Linked DNA regions of Homo sapiens: all the other regions are linked to region 3. The links are contacts of gene promoters, found by promoter capture Hi-C in human tissues and cell types (Jung and others, 2019). All regions are on one chromosome and are shown on one strand. The core of a region is centred on a gene start or on the middle of the fragment in contact, and the rest is flanking DNA. Distances in the headings are between cores, read along the strand shown. Region 1 overlaps GJC1 (gap junction protein gamma 1). Region 2 overlaps DBF4B (DBF4B-CDC7 kinase regulatory subunit). Region 3 holds the start of PLCD3 (phospholipase C delta 3).

The links. The method cuts DNA at HindIII sites, captures the fragments that hold promoters and counts their contacts. A contact is called where the count stands out against the background at its distance.
Region 1: a contact is called between a fragment that was not itself captured here and the fragment with the promoter of PLCD3 in region 3, in 1 of the 25 tissues and cell types used here (aorta).
Region 2: a contact is called between a fragment that was not itself captured here and the fragment with the promoter of PLCD3 in region 3, in 1 of the 25 tissues and cell types used here (lymphoblastoid cells).

Annotation. Positions count from the first base shown.
Region 1 is chr17:44,816,221-44,818,920 of GRCh38, forward strand. All of the region lies in intron 1 of GJC1 (gap junction protein gamma 1), which reads right to left. Among named protein-coding and RNA genes, the nearest start is that of GJC1, 13 kb to the right of the region's middle. The HindIII fragment of the contact is 9,186 bases long and covers 1-2,700 here.
Region 2 is chr17:44,751,926-44,754,625 of GRCh38, forward strand. DBF4B (DBF4B-CDC7 kinase regulatory subunit) reads left to right here. Exons shown (of 14, transcript NM_145663.3): 14 at 1-339. Among named protein-coding and RNA genes, the nearest start is that of ADAM11, 5.7 kb to the right of the region's middle. RefSeq lists an enhancer at 1,135-1,635. The HindIII fragment of the contact is 3,429 bases long and covers 1-2,700 here.
Region 3 is chr17:45,131,175-45,133,874 of GRCh38, forward strand. PLCD3 (phospholipase C delta 3) reads right to left here and starts at 1,341. Exons shown (of 15, transcript NM_133373.5): 1 at 1,074-1,341. The coding sequence starts at 1,236. It also overlaps a transcript of ACBD4 not described here. RefSeq lists silencers at 1,145-1,274, 1,375-1,594 and an enhancer at 2,065-2,134. The HindIII fragment of the contact is 27,952 bases long and covers 1-2,700 here.

The DNA of each region.
Region 1 (2,700 bases), core at 42-2,541, 320 kb before region 3:
AAAGAAAACCCAAATACTGAAGAAAATCAAGTTTGCTTATATAACATTTATTAGACAGAAACCAAATGTGCTATTTTTAGTCTATTTTCCAAATAACTTAGACACAAATCTACCTTGTCTTACACTAGAAAACAGAATTTAAAAAAATTAGCTGGCATCAACATGGTAATAAATTATGTAATTCTCTCTCAAATTCTTATCTCAAGAGTTTTCTATAGGTTATATCCAAACAGACTCAAATTAACACTGTTTTTCTGTAAAACATAATTCAGTTTGTTTTGTTTTGTTTTTGGTTTTCTGAGACAGAGTGTCGCTCTGTCGCCCAGGCTGGAGTGCAATGGCGAAGTCTCAGCTCACTGCAACCTCTGCCTCCGGGGTTCAAGCAATTCTCCTGCCTCAGTCAGCTTCTCGAGTAGCTGGGATTACAGGCACTCGCCACCAGGCCTGGCTAATTTTTCTATTTTTAGTAGAGATGAGGTTTCACCTTGTTATCCAGGCTGGTCTCGAACTCCTGACTTAACTGATCCCTCTGCCTCGGCCTCCCAACGTGCTGGGATTACAGGTGTGAGCTACCGCGCCCAGCCGAATTAATAGGATTTTTGAAGATCAAATGTAATGAACATTATTTGAATTATTTCAGCAGGTAGATTCTAATATTAAACTCATTTTAAAGATGAGGAAATCAGGTTTAAAAATTTATAATTTGCCTGCCAGGCGCAGTGGTTCACGTCTGTAATCCCAGCACTTTGGGAGGCCAAGGCGGGCGGATCACCTGAAGTCAGGAGTTCGAGACCAGCCTGACCAAGATGGAGAAACCTGCCTCTACTAAAAATACAAAATTAGCCAGGCGTGGTGGTGCATGCCTGTAATCCCAGCTACTCAGGAGGCTGAGACAGAATTGCTTGAACCCAGGAGGCGGTGGTTGCAGTGAGCTGAGATCGTGCCATTGCACTCCAGCCTGGGCAACAAGAGCAAAAGTCTGTCTCAAAAAAAACCCACAAAAAACAAATAACTTTATTATTTGCCTAAAATCATCTACTTATTAAGTAGTGAAGCCAGAATTTGAAGTCAGGCAGTCTTGCACTAGAGTTTGGACTCTTTCTTGACCACTCGCTAGTAAAGAATTACATTACAGATGGAATTATGTACAGGTTCTATGTGACCCTAATCCCAGTCTTTAGGATCAGAACTGCAAAAGAAAAGCACAAGGCCAGGCACGGTGGCTCATGCCTGTAATCCCAGCACTTTGGGAGGCTGAGGCGGGCGGATCACCTGAAGTCAGGAGTTCGAGACCAGCCTGACCAAGATGGAGAAACCCTGTCTCTACTAAAAATACAATATTAGCCAGGCGTGATGGTGCATGCCTGTAATCCTAGTTACTCAGGAGGCTGAGGCAGGAGAATCGCTTGAACTCAGGAGGGGGAGGTTGTGGTGAGCTGAGATTGTGCCATTGCACTCCAGCCTGGGCAACAAGAGTGAAACTCCATCTCAAAAAAACCCAAAAACCAAAAAACTTTATTATTTGCCTAAAATCATCTACTTATTAAGTAGCAAAGCCAGAATTTGAAGTCAGGCAGTCTTGCACTGGAGTTTGGGCTCTTTCTTGACCACTCGCTAGTAAAGAATTACATTACCAATGGAATTATGTACAGGTTCTATGTGACCCTAATCCCAATCTTCAGGATCAGAACAACAAAAGAAAAAGCACAAGGCCAGGCGCGGTGGCTCATGCCTGTAATCCCAGCACTTTGGGAGGCCGAGGTGGGCGGATCAGCTAAAATCAGGAGTTTGAGACCAGCCTGGCCACCATGGTGAAACCCCATCTCTACTAAAAATAGAAAAATTAGCCAGGCGTGGTGGTGGGCACCTGTAATCCCAGCTACTCGGGAGGCTGAGACTGGAGAATCACTTGAACCCAGGAGGCAGAGGTTGCAGTGAGCTGAGATTGCGCCATTGCACTCCAGCCTGGGCGACAAGAGCGAAACTCTGTCTCAAAAAAACAAACAAACAAACAAAAAAATGCACAAACACCAGAAAGAAAATACATTTCAGAGTTTAAGATCTTAAAATGTAAAATGGAATGAAAGTTTAAAAGTAAAATAAAACAGAACAAGCTTTCTTGGTAGCTGGGGAGGAAGGAATAAACGGTATCTTTGACAAAAATGATTTATTTATTTAAGGAGGACAATTTATTTGGGCATTGAGAATAGGGAGACCACAAAACAACTATTAACCCAAGAAATCACTTCCACATATATCTTTGGAAAAGTCTCTAATAGTCTCATGTTAAAAAAAAAAAAAAAGGCCAGGCATGGTGGCTCACATCTGTAATCCTAGCACTTTGGGAGGCTGAGGCGGGCGGATCCCAAGGTCAGTTCAAGACCAGCCTGGCCAACATGGTGAAACCCAGTCTCTACTAAAAATACAAAAATTAGCCAGGCCTGGGCTACTGTAATCCCAGCTACTCAGGAGGCTGAGGCAGGAGAATTGCTTCAACCCGGAAGGCAGAGGTTGCAGTGAGCCGAGATTGTACCACTGCACTCCAGCCTGGGCAAGAGAGCAAAAGAGCAAAACTCCATCTGGGGGTGTGGGGCGGGAAGAAGCTGGCTGGGCGTGGTGGCTGACTCCTGTAATACCAGCACTTTGGGAGGCTGAGATGGGCAGAACACTTCAGCTCAGGAGTTCAAGACCATCCTAGAC
Region 2 (2,700 bases), core at 156-2,655, 380 kb before region 3:
GTTCGTTCATTCAGCACAGGCCTTGCCGTCTGCCCTGAGTCAGCTCCGAGACACCTGAAGAGCCCTCCAGCCCTAACTACTTTACTCAGACTAGGTCCCCAGGCCTTTGTTCTTGCCTCTTCTCGCTGAGCCTTTCACTTCTCGGCAGATGTGACCGATTGGTAGCTCCACCCCAACTCCCTTCTGCTGGGTGGAATGCAGGAGCTAGCTGCCTCCAACTCACTGTGACCTCAGAAAAATGCCTTTATTACTCGGGCCTCAGTTTCCTCGTCTTTAAGTAAGGGGCTTGGATGAGATGATTTCAGGACCCTTTCCAATAATAAAATACTGTGACTGCCAGCAAATCTTTTATGTCTTTCCCTATCCTGCCACCAGCAGGAGTGCTGTATACCCGAGCACTCCTTCTCATCCTGGATCTTGGCTCCCCTTCCCAGGGGAGTTTCAGCTGTGCCCAGCTCAAACTGTTTTCTTGATCTAAAAAATGGAGGTAATCTAGGCTGGGCACGGTGGCTCACGCCTGTAATCCCTGCACTTTGGGAGGCTGAGGCGGGCGGATCATTTGAGGTCAGGAGTTCGAGACCAGCCTGGCCAACATAGTGAAACCCCATCTCTACTAAAAATACAAAAGTTAGCCGGGCATGCTGGCATGCCTGTAATCCCAGCTACTCGGGAGGCTGAGGCAGGAGAATCACTTGAACCTGGGAGGCAGAGGTTGCAGTGAGCCGAGATTGTGCCACTGCACTCCAGCCTGGGCAACAGGGCGAGACTGTCTCGAAAATAAATAAATAAATAAATAAATACGAAAAATGGAGATAATCATAGTTGCTACCTCGCTAGGAAATCACAAGAGTGAAATCAGATGTGTTTGTGAGGTATGTGGCACAGAGCTTGGCACATTGTCTCAACAAATAACATATTACCCACAGGCACACATGCCTGTGAGGCCTCCCTCCTAAACTTACATAAAGCTTATTCTCACTAATTCCCACCTGGCAGTGTCCCTTGGTAACTGGCGTCCTCATCTCGGGTGAGCATTTGTGGATGAAGCTGCTGAGGGGCACTGTGAGACCCCCTGTCCCAGGCCCCCTCCCAAGGGCCCTCTCCTGAGCTCCAGGAGGATCCCTTTTGTGGAAAAGAAGTGGCACTTGGGCCCTTATGGGTGTGACTGTATTTGTGCCCCACAGACCTCCCAAAGGATGAGTGTGCCTGGGATCCTGGTGCCCCAGGTGCCCCCAACTCCTCCCTTGGTGAAGCCTGAGAGCTTCAGAGATTAAAAGAGGGGCCACTTGGACGCCTGAGAGGGAGGAGCATGAGGTTTCCCGGGAGAGCTATGCAGATGAGAAGAACGGTCCTTGGACCCTGGGCTGGCATCTAAGAGGAAGCAGGATGAACTTCCTGTCCAAATGCTAGGCACTTCCCCTGCTGCCACCCCTCCACATCACGACATCAGGCACAGGTTCTCTCTGTGCTGGGTAGAGAGAGGACCCCGAGGACCCCAAGCCATAGAGAGGCCTGGGGTCCTGGGCAAGGGCCAGGGAGCCGGTTTGCTCCTCGGCGCCTTGGACGGTGCGAGCCCAGGGTGACTGAGCCCCTTTCATGTGCCAGACGCTGCTCCAAGCATGGGCAGCTCAGCCATCATCCCCGAGAGGAGCACTGTGAGGGGGGTGGTTTTCTAACCCCTGTGTCGTGGATGAGGAAACCAAGGCCCAGAGAGGCCAGCGGGCTTGCTCAAGGTCACACAGCCAGTTTGTGGGGGAGGCAGGATTGGGACCCCAGCCTGGAGACCTGAATCCTGCCCCCTTGACTAGCATGGTCTGTGCTGCAGGACTTAAGGCTGGTCACCAGGCCTGGACGGCCTCCACTGGCAGGAATCACTGCCGGTGGTATCACCCCAGGGCTGGGGGCAACCAGGACCTCTCCCTTACCTGGAGTTGCGGAGACAAGGTCTTGGCCCTGCATCCCCAACTTGGCCCTTATGCAGGAAAATTTGAGAGAACCGGCTAAAGAGCTAGAAGAGCAGCAGAAGGAAGGAGGCTCCGGCCTCCTAGGGAAGGGGCTTCCTAAGGGAGGCCAGAGACCCACCCCTCAGGGCCCCACAGCTCCCTCAGCAAGAGCAACCCCAAGAGTGGCATCAGGGCAGCAGAAATAGTGGCCCCAGCCTCAATGGATGGACCGAAGGAGCCAGCCATAGCTATGAAGTTGAGGTGGGGCCCCCCAGGGAACCCTATGTTTGAGGGGGAGACACAGGCCTGCCCCGATCTAAGCAGAAAACAGCCCTTGCTATCAGGGTCAGGTCTGATGAGGAGGACAAGCCCTGCTCTTCTGAAGTCCCAGTCTGATGAAGGGCCACCAATGAGAAAACAGACAGCCCTGACCTCAGGAGGGACGGTGGGTGAAAGAACGTGAAGCAAGCTTTCTGTGTGGGGATCCCACAGCTCCTAAGAGAGCTGAGGCAAGCATGAGACAGGGGAGGTGGAACCTCAGGGACTGGGGACTGTGATCAAGGGAGAGGCAAGAGGTCTAGCCGAGGCCGGGTGCCAGGGTTCACAGATGTAATCTAATCCCAGCACTTTGGGAGGCTGAGGCTGGAGGATCACTTGAGTTCAAGAGTTCGAGACTGGCCTGGGCAACATAAAAAGACCCCCGTCTCTACAAAAAGAAATTTTGTTAGCCAAGCATCGGCCTCATGCCTGGTAATCC
Region 3 (2,700 bases), core at 91-2,590:
AGCGCTCAGGTGGAATGAGTCGAGGTAACAAGAAGGCAAAACTGGCAATCAGGACCCCTGAATTCTGCCCCAAGTTCTACACGGGGTCCCTGGCAGCCTTGTCCTTCTGTTCCGGAGTTCCACACCTAGCCTCTCCATCACTGACTATTCTACCAATGGCAGGTCCAACGCAGCACTTCAGTGGCGCGGTCCTTTCCACGTCAGACAACATTCTCGCACACACCCTCTCATTCAAGCCCTCCACTGCCCTGCGGGTCCCACTTTTCCCAGACTCTGAGAGGGTACCAGGGCCCATGTGGTGGGGCACCACCGGGGTGCCAGTCACACTTTGCCCTTTGTTGGCTGTGTGGTCATAGGCAAATTCCTTGCCGTCTCTGAGTCAGTTTCCTCACTTGTGAAATGAGGATTCACCTCCCACCTAGGAAGTCGAGGAAGATTGCAAGACACCACCTGTGTAACCCACCCAGTGCCAGCTGCCTCTGTGATGTTCCAATGAGCCACAGTTACATTCCTTCTCCACGACTGACTTCCCCAAATCTGAGGTGAGAGCCTTGGCTGTCGGACGTAGGCTGTTAGACCAGTCCTGCCAGAGCAGTGTGGCTGTGGCCGCCTCTGTGGGGCCGCGGCTTGGAGGGCTGCTGTGGAGGCCAGCCTCTTCTGCGGAGGCCGACCGCAAACTCGCATCCTTCCTAAGGGCTGCCAAGACCCCGAGACACCCTGGCAGAACCTAGATACTGCTGGGGAGCCGGACGAGGGACACCCCAAGCCTCCCTCTCCCGCTCCATTCTCCTTGGAGACCCCACCAGCGCCCCGTGCCCGAATTCGCGCTTCAGACGCCCCGCGAGCGCCCCCTGGTGGGAAGCAAAGAACACCCTGGGCGCCCGGCTCGCCCCGGGACCCTCGGATGACCCCAGGTGCGACCCCCAGCTGGAGGGAGCTGGCCCTCCGCCCCTAGCCATAGCCTCCCAGCCCCGTGCAGCCTGGGGAATCCACGAACTGCTCCCTGGAGCGCCCCAGACTGGGCCTCTGGGAACGGTCCGCGCCCACCCCACCGCCCCTTGCCCGTCACTGACCCATCTTCTTCAGCGCCCGCAGCCCGGGCCTCTTGGTGCCGCCATCGGAGGGAGTCGGCGGGGACGGGAGAGCGACCGGCGCCGCGACTTGGGCTGCGACCTGGGCGGCCACCGGGGGCTCCTCGGGCGGGCGGCGGCAACGCCTCCAGCGGCCGCACAGCATGGCTTGGCGGGGGGCCGGGGCCGGGCCCGGGGTCTGCACGCGGGGACAGGGCAGCGGGGCGCCGCTCTGGCCCGGCCCCGGCTCTGAGCGAGGCGGCGAGCGAAGAAACTTAGCGGCGCGGGAGGGAGTCGGAGGAGGCAGCAGGAGGTGGGGCGGGGCGGGGCGGGAAGGGAAGGGGGCGGGGCCGGGGCGGTGCGAGGGCGGGGCCAGGCGGTGGCCTGGAAGCCCGGAGCCTCAGCGCTCGCCCCTGCTCGTGAGTCCGTCTCCCCTTAGTCCGGGCGAGCCTCTGATCTTGGCCGCAAGGGTGACTAGAGCCCCCATGCTGCGGGGCTGGGGGTGGGAGCCGGCACCGGGGACGAGGGCCATCCTCTGGCACAGACACCCTCTCCTTCCCGGGGGCCCTGACTCGAGGCTGACGCAGGACCCCCTCCTCCTTCCCTTCCGCGTCCCCGTCGCGCCGCAGGCCTCAGCAGGGAACCAGAGCCGGGACAGGACGCAGGGCCGGGAGCGAAGGCAGAACCCCGGGAGCTGAGCCGCTCGGGGCAGCGCGAACCCGAAGGGATGGGCATGGGGGTGGGGAGGTTGGCAGTGACGTCATAGGATTAACCTCCCTGTGCCAGGCCAGGTGCTGCCCCCTCGGAGAGCCACAGTCTCGGAGCTGACGGACCTGGGGAGCGTGAGGCGGAGCCGAGCCTGGAGTCCCCAGCAACTGGTTCTGGGTTCGAGGCTTGGACAGGCCGGCACCCCAGCCCGGCACCCGCGGTGTAGTTGTCCGCGACGTCAACCCGTGGGTGGGCATCCGTGTGCAGGTTCTGGTGGCCGAGTCGGGTGTGCACTTACTATTTATATGCAAGCACCAGAGTGCGTGCGCGAAGTGGGGGACGTCCAGGTGGCAGCGTTTCTGCGGCCGGTGGCCTGGGTCCGGCAGAGACATGGGCGCACACCGCCACTTTGCGGCGGCCAGCGGCGTGGCATCCTACAGAGAGGCTAGTGCTCAGGGCCTGATTTGCCACCTACTTGCCCTGCTCTACCCCATCCTCAGATCTCCCAGGCCCAGAGATTCTGCACACTGGCTTGGGTCCCTACGCCACTCTGGGGTCCTGAATTTTCTTTTTTTTTTTTTTTTTTTTTTTTTTTTTGAGACGGAGTCTCGCTCCGTCGCCCAGGCTGGAGTGCAGTGGCGGGATCTCGGCTCACTGCAAGCTCCGCCTCCCGGGTTCACGCCATTCTCCTGCCTCAGCCTCCCAAGTAGCTGGGACTACAGGCGCCCGCCACTACGCCCGGCTAATTTTTTGTATTTTTAGTAGAGACGGGGTTTCACCGTTTTAGCCGGGATGGTCTCGATCTCCTGACCTCGTGATCCGCCCGCCTCGGCCTCCCAAAGTGCTGGGATTACAGGCGTGAGCCACCGCGCCCGGCCCTGAATTTTCTTCTTGATTATCGTATTCGCCTTTGTGCTTTTGA